Regions from separate parts of the Homo sapiens genome. Here all the other regions are linked to region 1. The links are contacts of gene promoters, found by promoter capture Hi-C in blood cells and fetal thymus (Javierre and others, 2016). All regions are on one chromosome and are shown on one strand. The core of a region is centred on a gene start or on the middle of the fragment in contact, and the rest is flanking DNA. Distances in the headings are between cores, read along the strand shown. Region 1 holds the start of CHPF (chondroitin polymerizing factor). Region 2 overlaps LOC105373883 (a long non-coding RNA gene). Region 3 has its middle 31 kb from the start of LINC02832. Region 4 has its middle 48 kb from the start of SLC4A3.

Evidence for each region. Contacts are between HindIII fragments. The CHiCAGO score rates a contact against its expected background, and 5 or more counts as called.
Region 2: a contact is called between a fragment that was not itself captured here and the fragment with the promoter of CHPF in region 1, in 2 of 17 cell types (neutrophils and monocytes). The highest score is 5.7, in neutrophils.
Region 3: a fragment that was not itself captured here is called in contact with the fragment with the promoter of CHPF in region 1 in 2 of 17 cell types (M2 macrophages and M0 macrophages); the score reaches 6.0 in M2 macrophages.
Region 4: a fragment that was not itself captured here is called in contact with the fragment with the promoter of CHPF in region 1 in 3 of 17 cell types (M0 macrophages, M2 macrophages and M1 macrophages); the score reaches 8.3 in M0 macrophages.

What each region holds. Positions count from the first base shown.
Region 1 is chr2:219,540,363-219,546,481 of GRCh38, forward strand. CHPF (chondroitin polymerizing factor) reads right to left here and starts at 3,447. Exons shown (of 4, transcript NM_024536.6): 1 at 2,863-3,447; 2 at 1,254-1,827; 3 at 584-763; 4 at 1-280. The coding sequence starts at 3,176. TMEM198 (transmembrane protein 198) reads left to right here and starts at 3,666. Exons shown (of 5, transcript NM_001005209.3): 1 at 3,666-4,015; 2 at 4,327-4,531. The coding sequence starts at 4,366. RefSeq lists silencers at 2,879-2,968, 2,979-3,688, 3,729-3,868. The HindIII fragment of the contact is 11,388 bases long and covers 1,848-6,119 here.
Region 2 is chr2:219,360,623-219,366,741 of GRCh38, forward strand. It overlaps LOC105373883 (a long non-coding RNA gene), which reads right to left. Exons shown (of 2, transcript XR_923917.3): 2 at 1,880-2,186. Among named protein-coding and RNA genes, the nearest start is that of DNPEP, 24 kb to the right of the region's middle. RefSeq lists an enhancer at 1,941-1,990. The HindIII fragment of the contact is 1,677 bases long and covers 1,877-3,553 here.
Region 3 is chr2:219,695,734-219,701,852 of GRCh38, forward strand. It overlaps the pseudogene RPL23P4. Among named protein-coding and RNA genes, the nearest start is that of LINC02832, 31 kb to the right of the region's middle. RefSeq lists an enhancer at 2,709-3,908. The HindIII fragment of the contact is 3,260 bases long and covers 958-4,217 here.
Region 4 is chr2:219,672,824-219,678,942 of GRCh38, forward strand. No RefSeq gene overlaps it. Among named protein-coding and RNA genes, the nearest start is that of SLC4A3, 48 kb to the left of the region's middle. RefSeq lists an enhancer at 1-262. The HindIII fragment of the contact is 928 bases long and covers 2,967-3,894 here.

The DNA.
Region 1 (6,119 bases), core at 2,197-4,696:
TCACCAGCTGCTGCTTCTGGAGCCGCAAGGCCGGGTGGTAGCGGCGGTTCAGCTCCTCTAGAGCTGTCCCCAGAACATCGGCCACATCAGCCCGGTCAGCCCCACGCAGTGGGCAGCGGGGTGAGCCATCGGCGCAGGAGAAAGCGTGCTGCTCCGTGAAGTAGTCCCAGCGCAGCACCTCAAAGCGGGAGGCCGGGCGGGATGGTGCTGGAATACCCACGGGCCAAGCAGCTGCCTGGTCCCCATCAACGGCCAGATGGCTGGTATTCTGGATCTCCCACTGGATCAGAGAAACAGGCCATCAGCAAGGGACAGATTACAGGGAGCAGCACACAGCTGGGGGACTGGGTAGGCAGTAGGTGCCACTCAGGATGGGCCCCTCATCCCCTGCCAACCTCTGCCCATACCTATCATTTCCCCAGCATAGACAGCCAAGAGGCTCATCAGAGAATGTAGAAACAGGCAGGGGCTGGGAAGTAGTTTTGTTCTGTGATTCTAGTGCTAACTTGTCATTTCTCTGGGCTCTCTGTGACTTCTCAGATCCTGTCCCCGTCACTCTGCCACCCCCAGACCTAGACCATACCTGTAACTCCTGGATCTCCTGGTACGTGCGTTCCAGTTCAGCTCGGGCGAAAGCTTTGTGCAGCTGGTACATGTGCACAGGGTCACGCACAGGGTGGGCTGTCAGGGCACTTCGGAAATGAGGGTCCCCCTCCTGCACTGGCTCCCCAGGGCTCAGCTCCAGATGGCTATAGTGCACCCCCTGGGGAGAGGAAGGGAAGGGATCTGTGATGAGCTGGCATTGTCTTCCGTTGTCTCATAGTAAGTGTCTCATCTCCTCAGCCTATGACCTGTTGTGGACTTGCAGTCTGAGGGTTTAAGTCTACCTTGACCAGTTGTGAGTCTGTGTGACCTTCAGCATGCCTCCGCTAGCTCATCTGCGAAATGGGCATGCGTCCTGTCTCAGAGCTGTCCAAGGGCTAAAATAATAACTAACATCAAATGCCTATTATGTACAAGGCTCCCTGATTTTTTCTAATCCTTGTAACAACCCCGAGCAATAATTATTTCCATTGGCACAAAGGAAGATACTGAAGCCCAGGATATTTAGTAATTTACTGGGGGTCACAGAGATAGAAAATAAATGTCCGAATTGGCATGGAAAAGCAGACCTGTATCTCCAACATCCCTTTGCCTCTCAGAGGGATTTGAACATGACAAGGAGGTATCAGTGGGATAGCTTATCATCCCACCTCGTGGTCACCAGTGCAGCCCACCCCGGTGGCATCGAGAATGCAGCGACCCAGCCACTCGTCAGGGCGCGCACTGACGATGTCGTTGCGGCAGCCTTCCAGGTGGGGGCGCAGTTGTTGCAGCAGCATGCGCGACAGCAGCACCCCAAAGCCTCCGTGGCAGTAGCGGCCGGGGGTGGGCTCTCCGCCGATGAAGTCCTGGGGCCGGCCCAGGTACAGGTGGGCGGCGGAGGCCAGGCTGAGGTGGCCAGTTAGGCGTGCCAGGCCGTGCGCCTCGGTGTAGGTGGTGTCAGGCACCAGGAAGAACCAGTCAAAGTCGTCGCCGTGCTGCTCCAGCAGGTGGCGCAGCGCCAGGTGCAGGTGTCCAATGGGTCGCTCCTCGCCTAGCGTCACCACTGCCATGCCAGGTGGGGCCCGGCGGCCCCGTGCGCCCGTCAGGAACACCACACGCTCCAGCCGGTGCCCCAGCGTGCGGTTCACGGCCACGCCCAGCGTGGGCAGCGTGGTCTGAGAGGTCAGCACCGCCACCAGCAGCCTCTGCCTGATGCCCAGCTCCGTGCTGATGTAGCGGGTCCTAGGGGAGGAGATGGCACAAGCTTATCAAAAGGACAACGGGGCGGGGGGTGGGGGGGAGGTGGTCAGCACAGACCCTGGCAGGTCACGTCTTCTCTGTATCTGTTCTCTCACCTATGAATAGGTTAAAAATAAACCCTCTCTCCCAGGGGTCATGAGGATTTAAACGAAATGGTCTTAAACAGGTAGTGCTTTGCATTTGGGAGATGGCAATACCCACCCAGATAGGAGAGAGATATTGTGGGTCTGACTCCGGGGTTCGCTACTTAGTAGTTATGTCCTTGAGCATGTTATTTAACCTGAGCCATCTGTAAAATGGGACTGATTATATCTGTTTAAAGCACCCAGCCAAACGCTGGACACACCATGTATCTACTCATTTCTATATAAATATGCCATTATGCCACAAATGCCTCACATAAATGACATAAAGGAACGTTTGGCATAGGGGTGTACTGAGTGTTTTTGCGGGGAGGGGCAAACTGCACTCAGGGGCTCTAGGAACTTACCTTTTGGTAAGGCAGAAGGTAAATTGCAGAACCAGCATTTGAACCCAATGTTACTTAGAAGTTATTTCAACTCATCAGCAGAGACATTAATGAGATAGGTACATTCCTCCCTCCCCCATCTCACCCTGAGGTGGCCCTTGTAACCCACTCAGGAACAAGAGATCCAGGTAAATCCTAGTTCTCTCCTTTCTCTTCCCCTGTCTCTATACACTCACCCTATATATAAGTCATTTCTCTAACACCAGCAGCCCAGCCAGGGAGCTAGTAGGATCTCTGGGGCGCCATCGGGTCGAGCCGGTTTAGGACACAGTCCAGTAAGTTCAGCCCAGGCCGGGATAGGGCCCAGAGAAAGTCTCGGACTGGCCCCACGGCTCTCGGGAAGGCAGGGCCATCGGAAGTTATCGGGGCCCAAAGACTTCCTGGCTCGCCAGCCCCTTCCTTCCGGAGCCTGACCCGGGCCCGGGCGACCTCCCCGCGCGCTTCCCGGCCGCTGCCCAGGGGGTAGAGCGGGCGCAGCCGATCACTACCTGACGGCCTTTTTGGCGGCCTGGCCGGGCTGTGCAGGGTGGTAGGGCAAGACGCGCGGCTCCCAATTCTCCCCGGCGCCTTCGCCGGCCCCGGGCTTCTCGCGCTCCGCTCCGGGCTGCACCGAGTTGGGCCGGCGCGCCGCGTTGGTGTTGCCGCGCGGCGGCAGCTCAGAGTCTCCAGGTTGGGGCGGGCCTGGGCCGCACGGCTCCTCCACCCAGGTGACGCTGAGCAGGCTCAGGGTGAAGCCCAGGGAGATGCCCACGGCCACGGGCCCTGCGGGCCGCAGCACCGACAGCAGCAGCGATGCCCGCATGGCGCCCGGACCGCGGGTCCCCGGCCCCGGCGAACCCCCAGAGCAGCCAGAGGAGTCTCCGAGGGGGCGGGACCGGGGAGGGGGCGGATCCGGAGGGCTCGGGCCCCGCGGGCGGGCCCGCTCCCTCCCCGCAGAGCAGAGCCAGCGGCCCGAGCCGAATCCCCGGAGCCGCGCCTCGATTCCCCTCCAGCAGCTGCTCTGGGCTGCGCAGGGTTCTTGCGCTCGGCACTGGAGCCTCAGCCGCGGCCGCAGCTGTCCGACGTGTCACTGCAAGGGCCCCGCCCCCGGGGTGGGGTCTCGGGCTCTCGCTACCGGAGAGGGAGGAGAAGGGGGAGGTTAAAGGGGAAGGACCCCCGGAAGTGCCCCCTCCTCAGTGCGGGAGAGGGAGACGCCGGGGGCGGAGTCCCCTGCCTCCCGCGGCGTGGTTGGTGCGTCCCATGTGACGTCAGAAGCAGCCCGCCCCTGCCTGGATGGTGCGCCCTGAGTGACGTCAGGAGCAGAGGCCGGAGCTGTCCATCAGCACCAAAGGCCGCGGGCGGGCTCAGGGCATGGGGCCGCGGTTCTGGGGCGGCCCGAGCCCCGGCTCCTGCGCCTTCCCCTTCCTCAGGCCCAGCCCGAGTTCCCGGACGCCGCGGGACTGGAGTGCCAGCCGGTGTTGGACGTGGAGCGGCGCCGCCACCGCGCCGACACCATTCTCTCCGGCCCAGCAGCCCCCTTCCTCGCACGACGGACTTTCCCTGGACCCCAGTCAGTTGGAGCCTCTGGCGCCCCGCAACCCCGGCCCCTCGGGCCTCTGCACAGCCTCTTTCACTCAGAAGCTCAGGTCGCCTCCAGCCCAGGTAAATCTTGGACAATCCCATATTGAGCCGCCCACAGATGAATCTCTTGGCTGCCTCCTTCTCACTGGCAGCACGCTCCCTTCATCCCCCCGACTCCCGTCCCTCTTTTAACTTCATCCCAGCCTCCACTAGCCAGGCACTTTTGTTTCCCTTTGTCTTTGCTCCCCACTCCAGAGATGCTTCCGGAGCTGCACAAATGTGGATACTATTCCTTTGTCCACTGTCCTTGCTGAGTTCTCCCAATCCCTCTCCCACCCCCATCCTGGTGGGGACCCAGGACTCCTCCGTGACCCCAACTTTCCCTCTGTCAGGTTAACTTGGGAGGGTGACTCCCTTCTATTCCCAGCACTATGCCGGGGACTGTGGCAACACTGCGGTTCCAGCTGCTGCCCCCTGAGCCAGATGATGCCTTCTGGGGTGCACCTTGTGAACAGCCCCTGGAGCGCAGGTACCAGGCACTGCCGGCCCTCGTCTGCATCATGTGCTGTTTGTTTGGAGTCGTCTACTGCTTCTTCGGTGAGATCCCCATCTCATCCCTCACCTGGGCTCCCCAGTGTTTCCCCGAGTTCTTTTTCTGGGCCCCCAAGTCTTCTCTGAATCCCTCTACCATCATGAATAATTCTTCCTTTTCTTTCATCCCACACATTTATAGATTGTCTAGACTCTAGATTATAGGAAAAACAGGTTTTTGGATTAGGCACACCTGAGTGTGAATTTACTTAGCTTTGCAGTTACTAATTGTGATGTCTTGGGCACATTAATCTGTCTGAGCCTCAGTTTTCTCATCTGAACAATGATCACAATATTTGTCTCATGTAGTGTTGTAAGAATTAGTAAGCATTCAATAAATTGTAGCTATTGTGAGGATGTGTTTGGCTAACTGTGCTAGGTAGCCACTGAAAACACTTAGCAGGGTTATTACACATGGTCCCTTACCACAGGGCATATTGTCTGACAGGGAGGAGACTCCCTGGAGCATTTACACCTGGGATACATATTAGAGTGGGCTGGATGGTGGTCACACACATCCATCCAGCCTACAAGGCAGGCTCCGGTAATCAGAGCTGCTGTGAATACTTGTACAGGACGGGTACTAAATAAGGGAGCTCAGCTGAGTGGGCAAGTGGGGGCTAAAGTCCAGCTCATGCTCTGACAAACTCTGGGCCTTGGCACAAAGCTGCTTTGCCTAGAGAAAGGCACACCTTTTTCTAATATGCATAAAGGTGCCAGATGGGCTAGTGGCCCAGTATAATGGGAGTAAGTGACCAGTGGCTTTGCAGCAAGAGTTACAGAACTTCAGAGAGGAGAGTGAGCTCTATGGGCTGGGGGCCCAAAGAAAGCCTCCAGGAGAATTGTAGGTGAGTGGGACCAGTGGGGGCAAATGAGTCTTGGGGGCTGGGGTTCCAGGTTGAGCAGAGGTAGTGCAAGACTTGTGTTCTGCAGCCTCCCCCTGCAATGGGTGGGTAGACAGGGTTGGGAGCCAGATGGTCCCTCCCATTCCTCCCCCAAACTCTGGGCTGAACAACTGAAGAGTAGGCAGGAGGAAGTGCCCCCCGCAAGGGTTCAGGACACGTTCTGGGCCTCCAAGGATTCTGTATCACCTCACCCCCTCCATATCTGTACCCACTCCCTCTGCATGTTGCTCAATGCAGCCTCATATTCCCTCTCCTGGGCTTCCTGACATCCTACCCCTCTTGGATGTCACTACGCCCAGGCTCATGGACTCTGAGCCCTTGTCCACGCCCTACTCCTCTCTCTGATCACGAGCCTCCTGGACTCTCATACTTCCCCCCACTCCTGGAAGTGACTCTCCTCTGTTATCTTTCTTTTTGGCTCTCTCTGACTCCTTGACCCCCATCTCTGATTTCCATCTTTCCAACTATTCAGAATCTCCACTTCCCTCACCCTTTCAAGTATCTCTAATGGGCCTAATGGCCCTATAACCTCCTTATTTCTGAAACTCCACAAACACTGTTTCCTTCTCTTTGATTCTGTGTGACCTCATGTAAGCCTTAGTGACCTCCACCTCCTCTCACCTCCAGTTATGTCATTACCTTCCATCCCTCTGACCCCCTCTATTACTCCTAGTCTTGATCCCTGGTTA
Region 2 (6,119 bases), core at 1,465-3,964, 180 kb before region 1:
GGCCATTTCTGCTTCTCCCCACCCTCCATTGTTATCTCTTTGTTCTAGTATAACCCTCCCCACCAAGTAGTTTCTGGTCCCTAGGAATAATTGTCACTTCATTACCTTCATGACTCTTACCACTGTCCATGACTTCTTCGTTTTTTGTTGTTGTTGTTGTTGTTGTTTGTTTGTTTTGTTTGTTTTGAGATGGAGTTTTTGCTCTGTTGCCCAGGTTGGAGCGCAATGACGATCTTGGCTCACTGCAACCTCTGCCTCTTGGGTTCAAGCAATTCTCTTGCCTCAGCCTCCCAAGTAGCTGGGATTGTAGGCGCCTGCCACCACACCCAGCTAATTTTTGTATTTTTATTAGAGATGAGGTTTCACCATGTTGGCCAGGCTGGTCTTGAACTCTTGACCTCAGGTGATCTACCTGCCTTGGCCTCCCAAAGTTCTAGGATTACAGATATGAGCCACCGCGGCCGATGGACTTCTTCCTTTGTTTACTTGTTTATTTGCGTCTCCCCACTGGAGTGTAAATTTCAAGAGGACAGAAGACATGTCTGTTTGATTTGCTATCACATCCTCAGTGTCTGGCTCAGGACCTAGCTCAGCCTGGATGCTCCAAAATGAAACAGATTTTGGGTCCTGAGGCCCCAGATGAAACACCTCTGCCTCAGTGCTCTTATCTGTTAGATGGGCAGCTCATCAGGGTGACTGTGAAAATGAAATGAGATGATGGATATAAAGCAGCCTCGTGTTGCACAAATGCATTGTGAGTTGAATTCTAGTTCCTTTCAGCTTCAGCCTCTCTGGGTTTGTAGATTTCGGCTATGCCCCAAGGTTTCAAGGTGAAAGACCTTGAAACCCAGAAGGGCAGAGAGGCCTGGTCTGGTAGAGAATCAGGAGCAGAATCCAGGAGACCTGCCTTACAGCTCACCAGGGGGAAGGTGTGAGACAGCCCACCTGACCCCAGGGAACAAAGGCTGCCCACCTTGATAGGGAGAGGGTGGGCCACCATGCCTGTGCCTCTTCTTGGATAGCCAGTGGGGATGGTGCTATCATTGCACTGAGGCCTGCAAGACTCAGGCCACCACCCTTTGTCGGGAAACAAGGTCTTCCCTCAAGGACAGGATCACCTCTGGTGGGAATCTCCTAGAGAAGAGGCAGCTCCTCAGGCCAGGCACGGTGGCTCACGCCTGTAATCCCAGCACTTTGGGAGGCCGAGGCGGGTAGATCACAAGGTCAGGAGTTCAAGACCAGCCTGGCCAACATGGTGAAACCCCGTCTCTACTAAAAGTACAAAAATTAGCTGGCCATGGTGGCATGTGCCTGTAGTCCCAGCTACTCTGGAGGCTGAGGCAGAAGAATTGCTTGAACCCGGGAGGCAGAGGTTGCAGTGAGCAGAGATTGTGCCACTGCATTCCAGCCTGGGTGACAGAGCAAAACTCCATCTCAAAAAAAAAAAAAAAAAGAGAGAGAAGAGGCAGCTCCTCCGAGATGGGTCAGAGCTCTATGGGGAGCCCCAGGTGGGCATCTAGATGGTGAAGAGCCCAAAGACTCTAGAAGTGGGTTCTCGGGACTTGCGCATGCGTACATGTGTTTATATGTGTATACATGTGTTTATATGTTTGTGCATGGGTGTTGTGTCCATGTGTTTATATGTGTGTGCATGTGTTTGTATGAATCAATGTGTACTGTATGCATGTGTGTTTGTGTGTGCGTATGTAGGTTTGTATGTGTGGGAGATGTATTTGTGTATGTAGATGGGATGTGTGTGTCAATGTGTATATGTGTACATGTAGTGTACTTGTATTCATTGTCTATTACTTTTTTTAAAAATCCAGTTTTAGCAAAGAATATCTATGGCTTATTGCTACATGACAAATTACCCCAAAGCTTAGTCGCTTAAACTATAAACATCTATTTCACAGTTTCTGTGGACTGGGAATCTGAGAGAGGCTTAGCTGGGTATTTTTGGTTCAGGGTCTCTCTTGAAGTTGCAGTGAAGATGTTACTCAGGGTTGGCTGTAGTCTTCTGAAGGCTTGCGTGGGGCTAGAGGATCCACTTTCAAGATGACTCACCCTCCTGGCAAGACGATGCTGGCTGTTGGCAGGAGGTCTCAGTTCCCTACCACATCAGCCTCTCCATATGGCTGCTTGAGTGCCTCATGACACAGCAGCTGGCTTCCTCTGGAGTGAGTGACCTGAGAGAGAGAGAGAACCAGGCAAAAGCCACAGTGTTTTTAAAACCTAGCTTTGGAAGTCCCATGCCATCATTTCTGCCATATTATACTGGCCACAGAGACCAACCCTGATACACTGTGGGAGGGACTACACAAAGGCATGAATTCCAAGAGGTAAGGATCACTGGAGGTCATCTTGTAGGATGGCTATCACATGCAGTATGTGCGTGTGGGTATGTGGGGTGTGTGTTTGTGGGTGTGTACATAAAGATGTGTGTGTTTGTGTATATATGTGTATGTTTTTGCATATGTATATATGGATATATAGCAATATGTTTGTGTGACATGTATCTATGTATTGTCTGCATATGTGTATGCATGCATTTATGTATATGTATCTGTGTATTGCACATGTGTGTTTTTTGCGCACGAGTATGCATGCATGTATTATGCCTACATGCATGTCTCTGTGTTTGTATGTTGTGCATGTGTGCATATATGTGTATGCCTTTTTGTATGTATTTGTAGTATGTGAATGAGCATATGTATGCATGTGTGATGGGTTTGTATATGTATCCAGGTGTATATGTGTGTCTATGCCTGTGGCTGTATATGTTTGCAAACATTGTATGTGCATGTGCACCTGTGTTGTGTGTGTGCATGTATGCTTACATGTGTGTGTTTCTGTATAGATGTCCATGTGTAAGTCCGCATGTGTCTGTTTATGTGTGTGTAGGTGTATATATGTTACGTTTATGTATGTGTGTGAGGTGTATGTGTGTAGGTTTGAGAATATGTGTGTGCATTACTATGTACATATTGCACTTGTATATATAAATGTGTGCTGGCACATGCATACAAACTTAGGAATGTCACCTGCTGTGGGAGGAAAGCCTGGAGTCAGGAGTGGGGAGACTCAGGGAGGAGTCCCTATTATTCCTGGGGTAGCCCATGAGTGGAAGGCTCTGGAGCCTGGAGAGCAGGCTCTCCCTTGCATTTAGGATATGTGGATCCATGGTCCTCTGCATCTGGCTTTCCTTTGTCAAGGCTTTCTGTTGTTGTTCATTTTTGTTTGAACATTTCAGTCTTTCCTAAGCTGTCAAATAAAGCAGCAGAGAAAGGGTGGTCTCTATTGCCTGGAAGTTGAGAGTTCAGTGTAGACTAGTGCCCCTTTGGGGCTGGCCTGGGGAAAACAAGGGGATTTCCCTGGAGAGCACGGCTGACCCTCCCTCTCATCTCTTCTCGCCTAGGGCCACTCTGGGAGCTTCTGGAGTTTATTGGGCAAGAAGGGAGGGCATTTCTTTACTTCTAATAATCCAGTCATCTTAGGAGCCACTCTTTTCCTCTTTCCATTTAGAATATTTCTGACACCAACTTTTGTGTTTAGAAGCTTTTATGCTTTTTTTTAAAAAAAGTATTTTTACCTTTTGATTATGAAAGGTAATACATATGAACAGAAGTAGACAGAATGTAAAGATACAGCTCAACAGATTTTCAGAGTGAATAGCCATTTATACTATCCAATAAGAGGGTTCAGGACATGCCACCCAGAAACATGGCACACTGGCATGTTGAATATTTTAAGCTGGAAGGATCTGAGAAACAGCATGTGCAGGACAATCTCTCTGACTTCCCTGATCCTTCTCTCCTGAAGGGATCTCCCTGATCCTTTCCCCATGTGAAAGGTGTCCTTCCTCCAAAGATGGGGACACAGACAGGAATCTGAACACATGGGCCTTGTTAAGTCTTTTGGGTAAATAAAATTAGTTTTAAGATTGTTGGCAGGCTGGGCGCAGTGGCTCACACCCCTAATCCCAGTGCTTTGGGAGGCTGAGACAGGAGCATTACTTGCGCCCAGGAGTTTGAAACCAGCTTGGACAACATACTGAGACTTGGTCTTTACAAAAAGTTTAAAAAGTAGGCCGGGCTTAGGGGCTCACGCCTGTAATCCCCGCACTTTGGGAGGCCGAGGTGGGTGGATCACTTGAGGTCAGGAGTTCAAGATAAGCCTGGCCAACATGGTGAAACCCCGCCTCTACTAAAAATACAAAAAATTAGACTGGCGTGGTGGCAGGCGCCTGTAATCCCAGCTAGTTGGGAGGCTGAGGCAGGTGAATCCCTTGAGCTTAGAAGTTCAAGGCTGCAGTGAGCTGTGTTCACACCACTGCAATCCAGTCTGGGCAGCAGAGTGAGACCTTGTTTATATAGATTAAAAAAAAAAAAAGCCAGGTACAGTGGCTCACGCCTGTAATCCTAGCACTTTGGGAGGCCGAGGCAGGTTGATCACAAGGTCAGGAGTTCAAGACCAGCCTGACCAACATGGTGAAACTCCGCCTCTACTAAAAATACAAAAATTAGCTGGGCGTGGTGGTACACACCTGTAATCCCAGCTACTCAGGAGGCTGAGGCAGGAGAATCACTTGAACTCAGGAGGCGGAGGTTGCAGTAAGCCAAGATGGCTCCATTCCATTGCACTCCAGCCTGGGTGACAGAGCCAGGCTCTGTAAAAAAAAAAAAAAAAAAAAAAAAAAAAAAAAAAAAAAATTGTTGATAAAATAAAAGCAGAAATGTCTTTGGAGTTGTCAGCATTAAATAGAATGCAGAACTACAATTTTATTTTACCTGGGTTTACTGGTCAAACAATGTTATATCAACTAGATGTTTAAGGTTATAAAACTATAAATCTAAACTAAGAATAAAATATACAATAAAAATAAATTGCTTGATGCATATCAAGCATAGCAGTTTTTAAAAAAAGACAGAGAAGAACCATATATTTAAATTTTTAGGTTTTTTGCTTCTGTTATTTTTTTTTAAACAGGGTTTAGCTTTGTTGCCCAGGCTGGAGTACAATGGCATGATTATGGCTCATTGCAGCCTCAACCTCCCAGGCTCGAGCAATTCTTACCACCTCAGCCTCCCAAGTAGCTAAAACTTCAGGAGAATGCCACCATGGACAGACAATTTTTGTATAGATGGGGTTTGGCCATGTTGCCTAAGCTGGTCTCGAACTCCTGGGCTCAAGGGATCTGTCCACTTCGGCATGCCAAAGTGCTGGGATTATAGGCGTAAGCCACCATGCCTGGCCATTTTTTACACTTACCTGATTTGTCAACAAGAAAAATAACTTGAGATGATGGCTAGCTTTGTTTGATGTTACAGTATGTCTGCCTGAATCAGTTTCCAAATCTTATTTGGTAACTTGCAAACTTAAAGTTAGGTTAAATTAAGCAGTAGATATTCATTAAATGTCTGAACCATTTGTAAGTAAGATAAACTACTGAAACATTAACTACTAAGCATAAATTTAAGCGTATATACTTCTGGCATCTTATTTTTATATGATATAGAGAAGCTAAATATATTTGGGTCTACTAATAAGCATGTTCTTTGCCACACTGAAAGACTGTACTATATTAGGAAGCATATGTTCCTGAAATTATAAAATAGTATATTCATAAATTTACTAATCTACTACAAGATGCCGATATATGACAGGCAGTTCACAATTGCCTGCTTCCTAGTTTTCACAGCAAATTAGGGTCACTAAGGGTTAAAACTTATAATAAGTATACATAAATAAAACAATTAGACATCATAGGATGGAGGGAAACAACTTTGTATGCAAAGTATGCAAGGTATGAAGAAATTATTATTATTATTATTATTTGAGACCGAGTCTTGCTCTGTCACCCAAGCTGGAGTGCAGTGGCGCGATATCGGCCCACTGCAAACTCCACCTTCCGGGTTCAAGCGATTCTCCTGCCTCAGCCTCCCTAGTAGCTGGAATTACAGGCACATGCCACCATACCCAGCTAATTTTTGTATTTTTAGTAGAGATGGGGTTTCGCCATGTTGGCCAGTCTGGTCTCCAATTCCTGACCTCAGGTGATCCGCCCGCCTCGGCCTCCCAAAGTGCTGGGATTACAGGCGGGAGCCACTGTGCCTAGCCAG
Region 3 (6,119 bases), core at 1,338-3,837, 150 kb after region 1:
CCCGATATACTACAGAAATGTAAATAAATTTGTATTCTTCTGCTTTTAAAAAAACAACTATAGGTGCTTCCTCTTTTTCCATTTTTTAAAGCGAATATATTATATATTTACAACTTACTAGAGGCTTTAAATATAATCTGCAGATGACTCTAAAATGTAAGTAAAACGATTATTCCCATGTTACCATTAAGGAAGCTCACTGAAGGTCACACAGCTAGTAAGTGGGGAAGCAGAGATTTTAACCTTGATCTCTCTGGCTCTACTTACTCTTAGCAGACTTTTCATCATGATGCTTCTTTCCCTCTTGTTGGGTGTTCAGATGTTCATATTCTTTGAAAATGTAGGAAATATCAGGAGAATTTCCCCAAGTTGTGTGCAACTAGCTCTCTACTTCAACGCTTTTCTGACCCAAGGGTGATTGGACCTTACAGGAGAACCATGTCAACTTTCAAGTGCACCAAATAAGATACCTCTGACTTTAGGTAATTTTGATGTTTGCATTTCCCCTAAGCCATGGGGGCAAAGGAGTGGTAGCAAGATTTCACCAAACACTAAATTAAGGATCTGGGTACCAACCCATGTGACTGCTCACCGTCTCCTCCCTCTTCTCACCAGGCATATTATTGCATTCAAACCTGGTCCAGCAATCTTTCTTTTCCTGCCTCCTCTTCCTAGATCAAGTATCTTCCAGATGATTATCGTGAAATTATTCAGGTATCCTTCAGCCTTCCCCTGGCCAGTCATCTTCCTGTGATTTATCAGCTGACGGTTGGTTCCTGGTGGAACCAAGCTGATCAGACTTCAGGCTCAGGATGTGCTTTGGAGAAGGCTGTGCTAGGTTTGGTAACCTTACTTGTCAAATGGGTGATATTCAGAACAAAACAAAATAGGTATAATTAGTTGGACTGGAAAGATCATACATGAAGATTAACAGTGACATCTAGGAGGAGCTGTCAAAGCTTGGCCAGGAGCTTGGCCAGGAGCTCAGATGGGCTTCTCCACATCCTAACCACCACTTCAAGAACTTAGGCTCAAAATTAGGCAACTTCCCTAAAATCTAAAACCCAGGTATGTGAATGCCTCAAATGCTCAGCCTCTCAAAAATTCCCAGCCAACACAGGTGTGTTTTGGGCATTTTCCTGTGGTGTCCTGGAGTGGCTCATACCAGCTCATGAGAGCTGATTGTCAAATTTTCAGGAAATTTTCAAGCCAATTGTTAAACACAGCCATTCTTAAAAATTAAATTGTGTAAATTTACAATTAAGTAAATTACATGAAAAAGGCAATAAATTCTCGAAACTCATTACTTCCTATTTATTCTACTACCTTTTTACTGTTCTCTATGATTGTGAGGTTATTTCTACCCATTTTTTCAGTATGGTGGAAACAGTATATCACGGTGTGCTATTGCACATTTCTTCCCAATTCTGTAGTCCATGACATCAAAATGGTAGCTTGGAATCAACCCTGGTGGGAATATTTGCACCTTGGAAATCTGCAAATGGTACAAATCAGGGCTTGATTTATTGTCTCGTTGATTGCCTAGACTTAAGAAAGTGATGGAGAAGATGTGAATATTGCATATTAAACTTAAACGTGTGTCATGTCCATAACTATTACATTGTGAATAGTAAAAAAAGGCTTAGGAAATTCTCCCGGTATTTGAAACTATCATCTGATACAGCAAGCAATCACTCATGTCATTGAAGAGCAAGTGAAAATACTGACATACATCTTTATTAACTCACTTTCTTTTTTCTTGTTAATGTAAAGGAAAATATCAACCAACATTCATGTTGTAACCACACTCATTTATCTATTCCAACCCTAGATTGAGTACAGATAGAAGAATTTTGCAAAAATCAACAAAGCCTTGTGTGAGGATCTATTGGCTATATGGAGTTTATCATAAAGAGTATAATTTGTTATTATCTGTAAATTGGGTACTATAGATCCTTTATATTGGTAAGATTTGTATCAAACATCTACATGCAGTATATCTATATATGCATTCATTTTTCCCCAGAGAGCAATTATTAAATATTTACCAATGCTCTTTCTGAAGATGTTGAAGTGTGAGGATGTGGTGGGTCCTTCTATGTGAAATTCAGGGTTTCCCTGGGTCTTCTGGTAGGAAATGTGATCAAGTGTGTTGACCACACAGGAGTGAAAAATCTGTAGTCATCTCTGTGAATGAGATCAAGCGACAGCGAAACTTTCTGCTGGTGTGGGTAACGTGGTGATGGCCATGGTCAGTAAGGCGAGCCAGAGCTCAGAAGGAAGGTGCATCCAGCAGTGGTCATGTGACAACAGAAGTCATGCCAGAGAAAAGATGGCTTGTTTCTTTATTTTGAAGATAATGCCAGGGTTGTAGTAAGTAATAAACGTGTGATGAAAAGTTCTGTCATCACAGGGCCAGTTGCAAAGGAGTATGCAGCCATGTGGCCCAGGCTGACGTCCAATGCTGGCAGCACTGCCTGAATCTTTAGCGTATTTGTAAAAAATTAAAAAAAAAAACATTAAACTCTGCCCCCGCCTCCCAAAACACCCACCAAAAACGATTTACCCCCACACTGTTGGCATATTCCCACTACTCTCTTACTGGTCACATAGAAGTTGGTGGATTTTCCTCCTCGATCTGCGTACTTGAGAATACCATTTTTCCTTTTATCCTTGGCTCCCCTCAGTCACAGAGGGCCCTATAAATGAGCACATTCCGCCAGCTGGGGATGTCCAAAGTAAAAAAAAAAAAAAAGACTTCCCTGCAATCTGAGGCTTTCATAGGAAGAACTGAAACCTGAGCAGGTAGAGGACAGCATTAGCAGTTCCTGGGTCTCATTTTAGGTCTCCTGTAAGTGAATGTCTTGTTCATCACTAAGGGCATTTGAGAATGTTTGCATTTACATTTACCAAAGTAACAGGGACAACAAACATTTATCTGCTTTATCATTTACAAAGCACATCTACATTTCTTAGCTTATTTTGTTTACTTCTAAAGATTTCTGTTTCTAGCATTTCACACGCAGCTGGAGAGGGGGCTAGTTACCATAGACACTGGCTCACTCTCCAGGGTGTAGCGGCCTTTCGGACATGGTATTAAAGGAGTTTACTTGCCCTTTTCTACTCTCTTTATTATACTCAATCTGCAGTGAATTCAGGGCAGGAAACAAAACCCCGGAAAGGGGTTATTAATGGTTCCAATAGAGAGTAATCCCACTTGCCAAAAGTAAGTAGGATGTGGTTACCTTTGATTTTGTTTCTCTCCCCAGGGGTCATGGGTGTGGAAGGAGAGCCGTAGTACATCAAGGGCAGAAACCGGTTGCTTCAAGTGTTATGGAGCGAGTTTCTTAGCATTTCCTAAATACTGTACCTGCCGTAGCTTTCTTCATGTGGTAAATTAAAAAACACATTGATATTACAACAAAGGAAAATACCACCCGACCGGGTTATTTTGTTTTGTTGTTGTGATCCACATCATAGCATGTAATGTTTGCCTTGGAAAAGTCTTCATAGAGTAAGGAATGAATGAAGACAAAAGTCCGTGGTGACTCATTGGTAATAGTTCAAACCTGTTAAAAACAACTGGGAGAGGTCTTTACCGTACACAGGGCTTTGGGAGTTTGCCTATTTTCCAGTTAACGTGATTGATTTTTCAGAGCTATGTGGGATCCCCTCGGACCCACAAATGGTCATTTGCGACTAAAAGAACTGATTTGATGGCCTCCAATGGTCAAACGAAACCAGATTGTTATCAAATCTTAACTCTATGCTGCATGAGCTTGGATTGTCTACAGTGGCATCCTTGGTGCACTTTAGAATGAAAAAAATTCAATTTCAAAAGTAAACACAGAGAACAAAAATAGTTCAGAGGACAGCCTACACAGATAACAAAGCCAGCAAATACAACCGAAGGATGCCGCACTGAAGCGGTATTTTATATAGCCAAGGATTGCCAAATATGTTTTTTCACCGAGATCTGCTTTTTTTTCTCTTTAGTTATTGATTAGCTTTGCGAAGGAGAGAATATTGACATGTGCAGAAGAGCGTAACACGTTGAAATAGTTTTAGATAGAGTATCTGTGGCAGGTCTTCGTGTTTAGATTTAAGTGGGAACCACTGTGGGTTCTGAAATAGCTTCTATAACCAGTTTCATCACAGACCTAATCATCCAAGACATCATTCCCTGTAATTTGACTGAAAAGCAGTGAGACAGCAAAAGCTTCAATTCTTGAAAAGGATTTAGCGGCCAGCCATCTTATGGTTATTAAAGACGTTCTTGTGCCGTCTCCTCCCCTCTCTCTTTACTCCAGCCATGACTAAATAAATCCAGAGGCTTGAATCAAACATGGAAAAGGGGAGCGACAAGCAAAGGACCAGAACAGACTCCTGGGGAAACAATTTGGTTAAAAAAATATTAAACAAGGCTTTACTGTCCTACAGAAGTTCTAGTCTCAAATGATCGAGAACCTCAAAAGTGAAATATTAAAAATTTTTTTTTTTCAGAGGACAAGTAAGGACACTCTTAGGCCAGACTATAGCTGAAAGAACCCAGCATTAGTTAAATGAAGACCTGGCTCTTGGAGCTTCATCTCCACTGCGTGACCTTGAATGAGACTCTTAACCTCTCTTAGCCTTGATCCCTGGTTTGAGGCTATGTTTGCCTTCAGCTCCTTTCACTCCCTGGATTCTAAAGCTTTCCCTTTTTAAGATTAAGATCCTTTGAGTACTTTGCTCTCACATCAGGTCGTCTTAATTCTTATGCTATGGATTTTTAGCAAACTTTATGGTATTTAGAAACTATATAGGCGATATTTGGGAAGGTCAGACATTTTTGGAATGTATAAACCAAAATGTAAGGACAGTACCCCCCTTCAGGTAAGCCTATGTCATCAAAAACTAGCCTTCATTTCAATTATGTACATTATAGCATTAATTTTTTTTGTACTTAAATCTGACTTCTTTTTAAAAATTATTGGGGCTGGGCGTGGTGGCTCACACCTGTAATCCCAGCACTTCGGGAGGCCGAGGTGGGAGATCGAGACCATCCTGGCTAACACGGTGAAACCCCGTCTGTACTAAAAATACAAAAAAATTAGCCGGGCGTGGTGGCAGGCACCTGTAGTCCCAGCTACTTGGGAGGCTGAGGCGGGAGAATGGCATGAACCCGGGAGGCAGAGCTTGCAGTGAGCTGAGATCGTGCCACTGCACTCTAGCCTGGGTGACAGAGTGGGACTCCGTCTCAAAAAAAAAAAATTTTTTTTATATTCAAGAGGTAGATGTGCAGGTTTCCTACATGAGTATATTGAGTGATGATGCTGAGGTTTGAGCTTCTGTTGATTCTGTCACCCAAATAGTGAACATGGCATCCAATAGTTTTTCAACCCTTGTCTCCCTCCCTTCCTCCCTCCCTACCCCTTTTTGGAGTCCCCATTGTCTATTGTTCCCATCTTTATATCCATGTGTACCCAATGTTTAGCTCCCACTTATAAGTAAGAACATGTGGTATTTGGTTTTTTGTTCCTGCATTCATTCACTTGGGATAATGGCCTCAAGCTGCAGCCATGTTGCTGCAAAGGACATGATTTTGTGTTTTTTTTATGGCTGGGTAGTATTCCATGGTGTCTGTGTACAACATTTTCTTTATTCAGTCCACATTGATGGGCACCTAGGTTGATTCCATGTCTTTATGGCAATAAATTTTTTAAAAAGCAGAAAGAAAGCTAGATGTATACATGTTACCCAAGTGTCTGCCTTCTCCCTTTGAGGGTCACCTTCCTCTAGGATATAGTTCTTCTGCTGTGCCTGTGTTGACCTGTGTCCCTGCCTTTGTCTCCATTGTCATTCTCTCCTCACCTTCATGCCGTCTCCTGGGACTGCCTTCACTTCTTACTTACCTGCTTTCCCCTCTGTTAGAAACCACCAGTCCTCATTCTTCCAATACAGTAATGATAAGGCCCAGGCAGAGCAGGTCTCACTAAAAGCCTGGAGATATTAGAGGGTGGTTATGGAGCAGGACAGGGGAAAAATTCAATTCAAACATTACTGTTAGAAATTTATCAGCCAACCCCACTGTAATGGGCTTGTGGTAATGTGGGAAATAGAATAACTAAATGGAACAC
Region 4 (6,119 bases), core at 2,181-4,680, 130 kb after region 1:
TGCCTTATCATTTGCTGGTCTTTAAAAATTTATATAAGGTCCTCATTAGAATTTAAAAATGTTTCTGCTGGGTGTGGTGGCACACACCTGTAATCCCAGCACTTTGGGAGGCAGAGGTGGGTGAATTGCTTGAGCCCAGGAGTTCGAGACCAGCCTGGGCAACATGGCAAAACCAAAAAATACAAAAATTACCTGGGCATGGTGGCATGCACATATAGTATAGTCCTAGCTATGCAGGAGGCTGAGGTGGGAGGATCACTTGAGCCTGGGTAGTAAAGGCTGCAGTGAGCTGAGATCATGCCTCTGCATTCCAGCCTGGGCAATAAAGTAAGACCCTGTCTAGGAGAAAAAAAAAAATTAAACATTTTTTCTTCATGTAGATTCCGTACATTTCTTATTAGGTGTATCTGTATGTAGCCTTTTTGTTTGTTTTTACTTTTTTGAATTGCTACCTTTTTTTTTTGAGACAGTGTCTTGCTTTGTTGCCCAGGCTGGAGTGCAGTGGTGCGATCTTTGCTCACTGCATCCTCCACCTCCTGTGTTCAAGCGATTCTCGTGCCTCAGCTTTTCGAGTAGCTGGGATTACAGGTGTCTGCCACCACGCCCAGCTAATTTTTGTATTTTTAGTAGAGACAGGGTTTTGTCATGTTGGCCAGGCTGGTCTTGAACTCCTGACCTCAGGTGATCCGCCCACCTCAGCCTCCCAAAGTGCTGGGATTACAGGTGTGAGCCACAGCTCCCAGCTGATTGCGGCTTTTTAAATGGGATTTTTTTCTTTCATTTTATTTTCCAATCAGTTGTGTGTATGTAGCAAGCTATTGACTCTCATACATACATTTTTATAGCTAGCCATCTTATCGAATTATCCTATTGATTTTAACAGTTTTGTTTTTGTTTTTGTTTTAACTCTATTCTCTTTGGTTTTCCAGGTGTAGAGTCAAAACTAGTTGCAAATAATTATAATATTATCTTCTCTGTTATGTTTATGACTTTTATTCTCCCATGGCAATGGTGAGTTTCAGTGCTGAACATGGACATTTCCTGTCTTCTTGGGTTTTCCATTTGGTTTCTTCTGAGAATTCTGCTTCTCTGATTTTGTTTATGATTTGGGATATTGAACCTGAGTTCTGACCTGGGCTCTCACTGGTTCTGGGGAGTGAAGGTCAGGGGCTCAGAGGATCCTTAGAATTGGGGGTCCACAAGGCTGGTGGACTGTTTAATCCTCTCCTCCACGTCCACAACTCATATCCCTGTCCCATCGTCCCTCCTCCTTCCTGGTGCTTCCTCCAGCTTGACTTGTAGTCTTGGGAGCTTAGCAAGTTGATTTTAGGGAAAGGAAAACCAAGAAAGGAATGGTTACAAAACTCTAGGATTATTTCAATGGATGGATTTTATAATTAGAGAAATACACTGTGGATGTATTTCTAAGTATATTTTTGCATTAAAAAATACAACTCAAGCACTATTAGGTGCCATGAACAGAAATCAAACTCAAGCCAGCTTACATTTGGAAAAGGCAAATTCATTGACTCCTATCACCAAGCTGCAGGAAGCCTGGGTTGTTGCTTAACTTACTCTCATCCCTGCTTCCTTTGAGGACTGACTTAACTCTCAGGCTGGCCAGTACCCTAAAGTTGGTACCACGGTGTGGGCAGCTCTGGGGCTGCCATCTTAATTCTAAGCACCTGAATTGCTTATCTCATTTAATCCATGACATGAACCTATGAGGTGGGTCTTGTTATCCCCATTTTACAGATGAAGAAATGGAGCCTCAGTGAGGACCCTTCCCAAGTTCACAAAGCTGGTAAAGAACTTTGGGATCTGGAGTCAACTCTGATTGAAGAGCTTGGGCTTTTAGCCCTGTGCATTCTCCTGCCCCTCCTCTTGAGAGCAGAGAGAAAAGAGCTCTTCCCACTCACTCCAGTTGGGCTGGAATGGGCTCAGATTGGCCTGGTCGTTTGCCTATCCCTGGGCCAATTACTGATGTCAAAGGGATCAGTCTCTAGGATTAGCCCAGCCAGGGCTATAGAGAACCAAATGGAAGTAGAGCTCTTTCCCAAATGAAGCGGGGGTGTTGTTCTGGGAAGGCGAAATAATAAATGGCCCCTACAACTCCCAAGCCCAAACCCTCCACTCTAGGTAGACCAGCTATTTCAATGCTCTGGGAACAAGTCAGGCACATTCCTGCCTCCCCATCTTTGTGCCTGTCATTCCTTCTCTCCGAAATGCCCTTTTCTCCTACATCCTGGGTCGAATGTCCCTTCTTTTTGTGTGTCATACCTTTCTTTAGGTAGCATCAAGCTTCCTCCTTTCTCCTGAGTTTTGGGGAGTAGCTCTACAGATTTTTCCCACTATTTGATTGATGAAAAGGTAGTTTTATTTTCCAAAGGTAAAAAAGGAACAGCTTCCTCTACTGACTTTTCTATGATCTTGCTCTCCCCTTCGAACTTTCCAGCTGATGGAACTTTGCTGGGAAAAAAAAGCAGCTCAAGGTGCCTGTGCCAAGATATTAGCATATACTGCCCCAGGCAAAGACACCGCTGGCATGCTCCATCTGTTTTTGCCAAGTTCTGTTATGTAAGTGACAGCTGAGGGTATCTTTTAAGAAGCGTAGTGTTTGTGAATGATGTGTCTTAATAGAGGAACAATGAGACACACTGGCATGCACAGCGTGCTTTGTGGGAGCAGGTTTTTTGCTGGAGGGTAATTTGGAGGGGAAAAGATGTTCAGGAGGAATAGCAGTTAAGGTGGGGTGGTGGGTAATAGTGACAAGAGGGTTCTTTTCATTTGTGAAGGGCTGCCTGTGGGCTGAGCCTCCTCTGGGCATCTCTCTTGGGGCAGGGCAAACACACTCTTGAGAATCAACTGTGAGGAGTTTGCTGGAGTCCCCAGCACCTGCTCTTCTCCCACCCAAGTTAGAGACCAGTCCATGTTTAGCCCCCTGGGGACTCTAGATATTATCTCTAAGCTTGGAAGCAAGGAATTCACTTGGCCAGTGTGGTGGTTGTAAAACATAGCTCCTAGATTCTTTGGCACTTTTCCTATCTGGGATGGAGTCTATGACCTTTCCTCTTGATTCTGCTTTGGCCAATAGAGTATGGTGGAAGGGCTAAGACTGAAAAGGCCATGTGGCTTCCCCTTGGTGCTCTGATAGTGTTTGCTTTCTAGAGACCCCTTCTCAGAAAGCCTTCTCTCTAACTCAACTGCCATGTTGTGAAAAGCCGAATCCACGTGGAGAGGCCATGTATAGGTGTTCTGGCTAGTCCTTAGGCCATCCCAGCCCAGGCACTAGACCTGTGAGTGCAGAAGCCACCTTGGAAGCCCCAGACATCGTGGAGAAGAGAAGAACCATCCCCACTGTACCTGAATCCCCACAGGAATTAGGAACAAAATAAAATGGTGGTTGTTTTCTGTCACAAAGTCTTGGGGATACAACAAAGATGACGGAAACAGTCAGAGTCTCTTGATGTCAGCTATAACCGAGGGTCCCAGAACCCCCTTCAGCTTTCTAGTGCCAGAGAGTCAGGAGTTGTGTGATGTTCTGGGTAGAGTGGGGTTCTTTGCAGGGAACTGGGATCCCGGGACATCTGATATTATTTCGTAAGGGCTTCTAATGCATATAAAAACGATGCCATCTTGTCCAGGAGCGTTTTCCCAGCTTGGAGTCTGCTTCGCTTCCCATGACATTTGGGCACTCTGCCGTACCCTATCAGCCTTGATGGAAAATTCCAATGGACCTTTTTCTCTACAGATGTATTTATTCTCTAAGAAGCAAGTTCCAGCACCCCATGCACAGGGTTTGCCAACCATCTGGAAGGTTTGATCTCAATACCTTTCTTCCTCCTGCCATATTGTTTATCTCCTGGTCACTGAGTGTGATACTGAGTTTACGGAAGCTTGAGGGATTTCTGCCAGCCAGGGAATCAATAAGTAGTGGTTGAGTGATTATGCTTTCTAAAGGCTTGTGGAGGAAAGGAAGAACTATATGACTCAGTCCATTCTCTCAAGAGCCACAAACATGTAAAGTAAAATAGTACAAAGATTATAATATTTCCAGCATTTATATAGCACTCTTATCTAAGAGAGTGGGTAGCAGGTACTCTTCATTTTCTGTGTGTGTCTGTCTGTTGGAGTTTAGGGACCTCTTTTTTTTTTTTGAGACAGAGTCTCACTTTGTCGCCCAGGCTGGAGTGCAGTGGTGTGATCTTGGCTTTCTGCAACCTCTGCCTCCTGGGTTCAAGCAATTCTCTGCCTCAGCTTCCTGAGTAGCTGGGATTACAGGCGCCTGCTCCCATGCCCGGCTATTTTTTTAATATTTTTAGTAGAGACGGGGTTTCACCATCTTGGCCAGGCTGGTATTGAACTCCTGACCTTGTGATCCGCCTGCCTTGGCCTCCCAAAGTGCTGGGATTACAGGCGTGAGCCACCGAGCCTGGCCAGGGACCTCTTTTTATAATACATAAGATTATAAAGGAAGCTGATCATATTGTAATATGGCTGTCCAAACACTAAAAAACCAAACAAAATCAAATTTGTGAATGTAGTAACAGTTTATCTTTTGTATTAGCCCATTAAATAATAAAACCTAGCAATAGTTTTATAATCACCCTAATATTGAAGTAGTTATGAGTATAAACTATATATTTTAGACACTGCAACAACTGTAGTGTGACATGAAATATCTGTGGTTCTGTTGGTGACAAAGTCACAGGTATGTTAATACCTCCATGTGAGTGCCTACATTCTAATTGAGAGAAATGCTAAATTTTAATTAGAGGTTAATGCAGGCAGAAAGGGGTCCATGGTTTGTAATAAATTTAAAAACAATGAAAAAATTGAAGTTGGTCTTGCCGTCTTTTATTTTTTATTTTTTTGAGACAGAGTCTCACTTTGTCACCTAGGCTGGAGTGCAATGGTGCAATCTCGGCTCGCTGCAACCTCAGCCTCTCAGGCTTAAGTGACCTTCCCACCTCAGCCTTCCGAGTAGCTGGAACTACAGGCACATGCGACCATGCCTAGCTAATTTTTGTAATTTTTGTAGAGACAGGGTTTCACCATGTTGCCCAGGCTGGTTTCAAACTCCTGGGCTCAAGTGATCCTTCTGCTTAGCCTTTGAAAGTGCTGGGATTACAGGTGTGATCCACCACATCTGGCCAGTCTTGATTTTATTATCACTATGTACCATTGGCTTTCAAGATTGTCAGTGGCCAGGCGCAGGGGCTTATGCCTGTAATTCCAGCACTTTGGGAGATGGAGGCTGGCGGATCACCTGAGGTTGGGAGTTCGAGACCAGCCTGACCATCATGGAGAAACCCCGTCTGCACTAAAAATACAAAATTAGCTGGGTGTGGTGGCGCATGCCTGTAATCCCAGCTACTTAGGAGGCTGAGACAGGAGAATCACTTGAACCCAGGAGGCGGAGATTCAACAAGATCGGGCAACAAGAGTGAAACTCCACAAAAAAAAAAAAAAAAAAAAAAAACAACAAAAAAGATTGTCAGTGACAAAATACATCCCTGCAGGGGGCCAAAGGTTCCCATTGCTTGTCTTCCTCACCCCCATATGCCACTGAATAGAGATGTAATTCTGGTATCGTTGTTTCCCCATCTAAGTTCAAAGACACCTAAATCCTATCCATGGACTCCAGGTTACAAACTCTTGTTGTATGGTGTGTCATGGTATGGGGGGTGGGCTTTAGAATCAGACAGGTCTGAGTTTGAGCCAGCTGTGTTATTCATTAGTTATATGACCTTGAGAAAATTGCTTAACCTCTCTGAGAATCGGTTTCCTTCTCTGGATAACAGGGTATAATAATGGTGCCCTTCCCATCATTGTTGGGAGGATTCCCTGAGATTCTAAAGTGAATGACATGGTGAGCACTGTGTTCGGCCCTTGGAGAGGGCTCCATCAATGGTGGTGGAGCTGACCGTCATTGTAATGGTTGATCTTCCCATTGGCGCTGTGCAAAGGTACTATTGCCTTGGTTTATCAGCTGAGAAAACCAGTCTTCAAGTCTGCCGAGGTGTTCTGATGGGGCAGGAGATGCCTGCTGTCCTGCTGTCACCCAACTGCCAAAGAGAACCTGATTTGCTCTTTCTCTCCACCATCCTGCCCTCCTG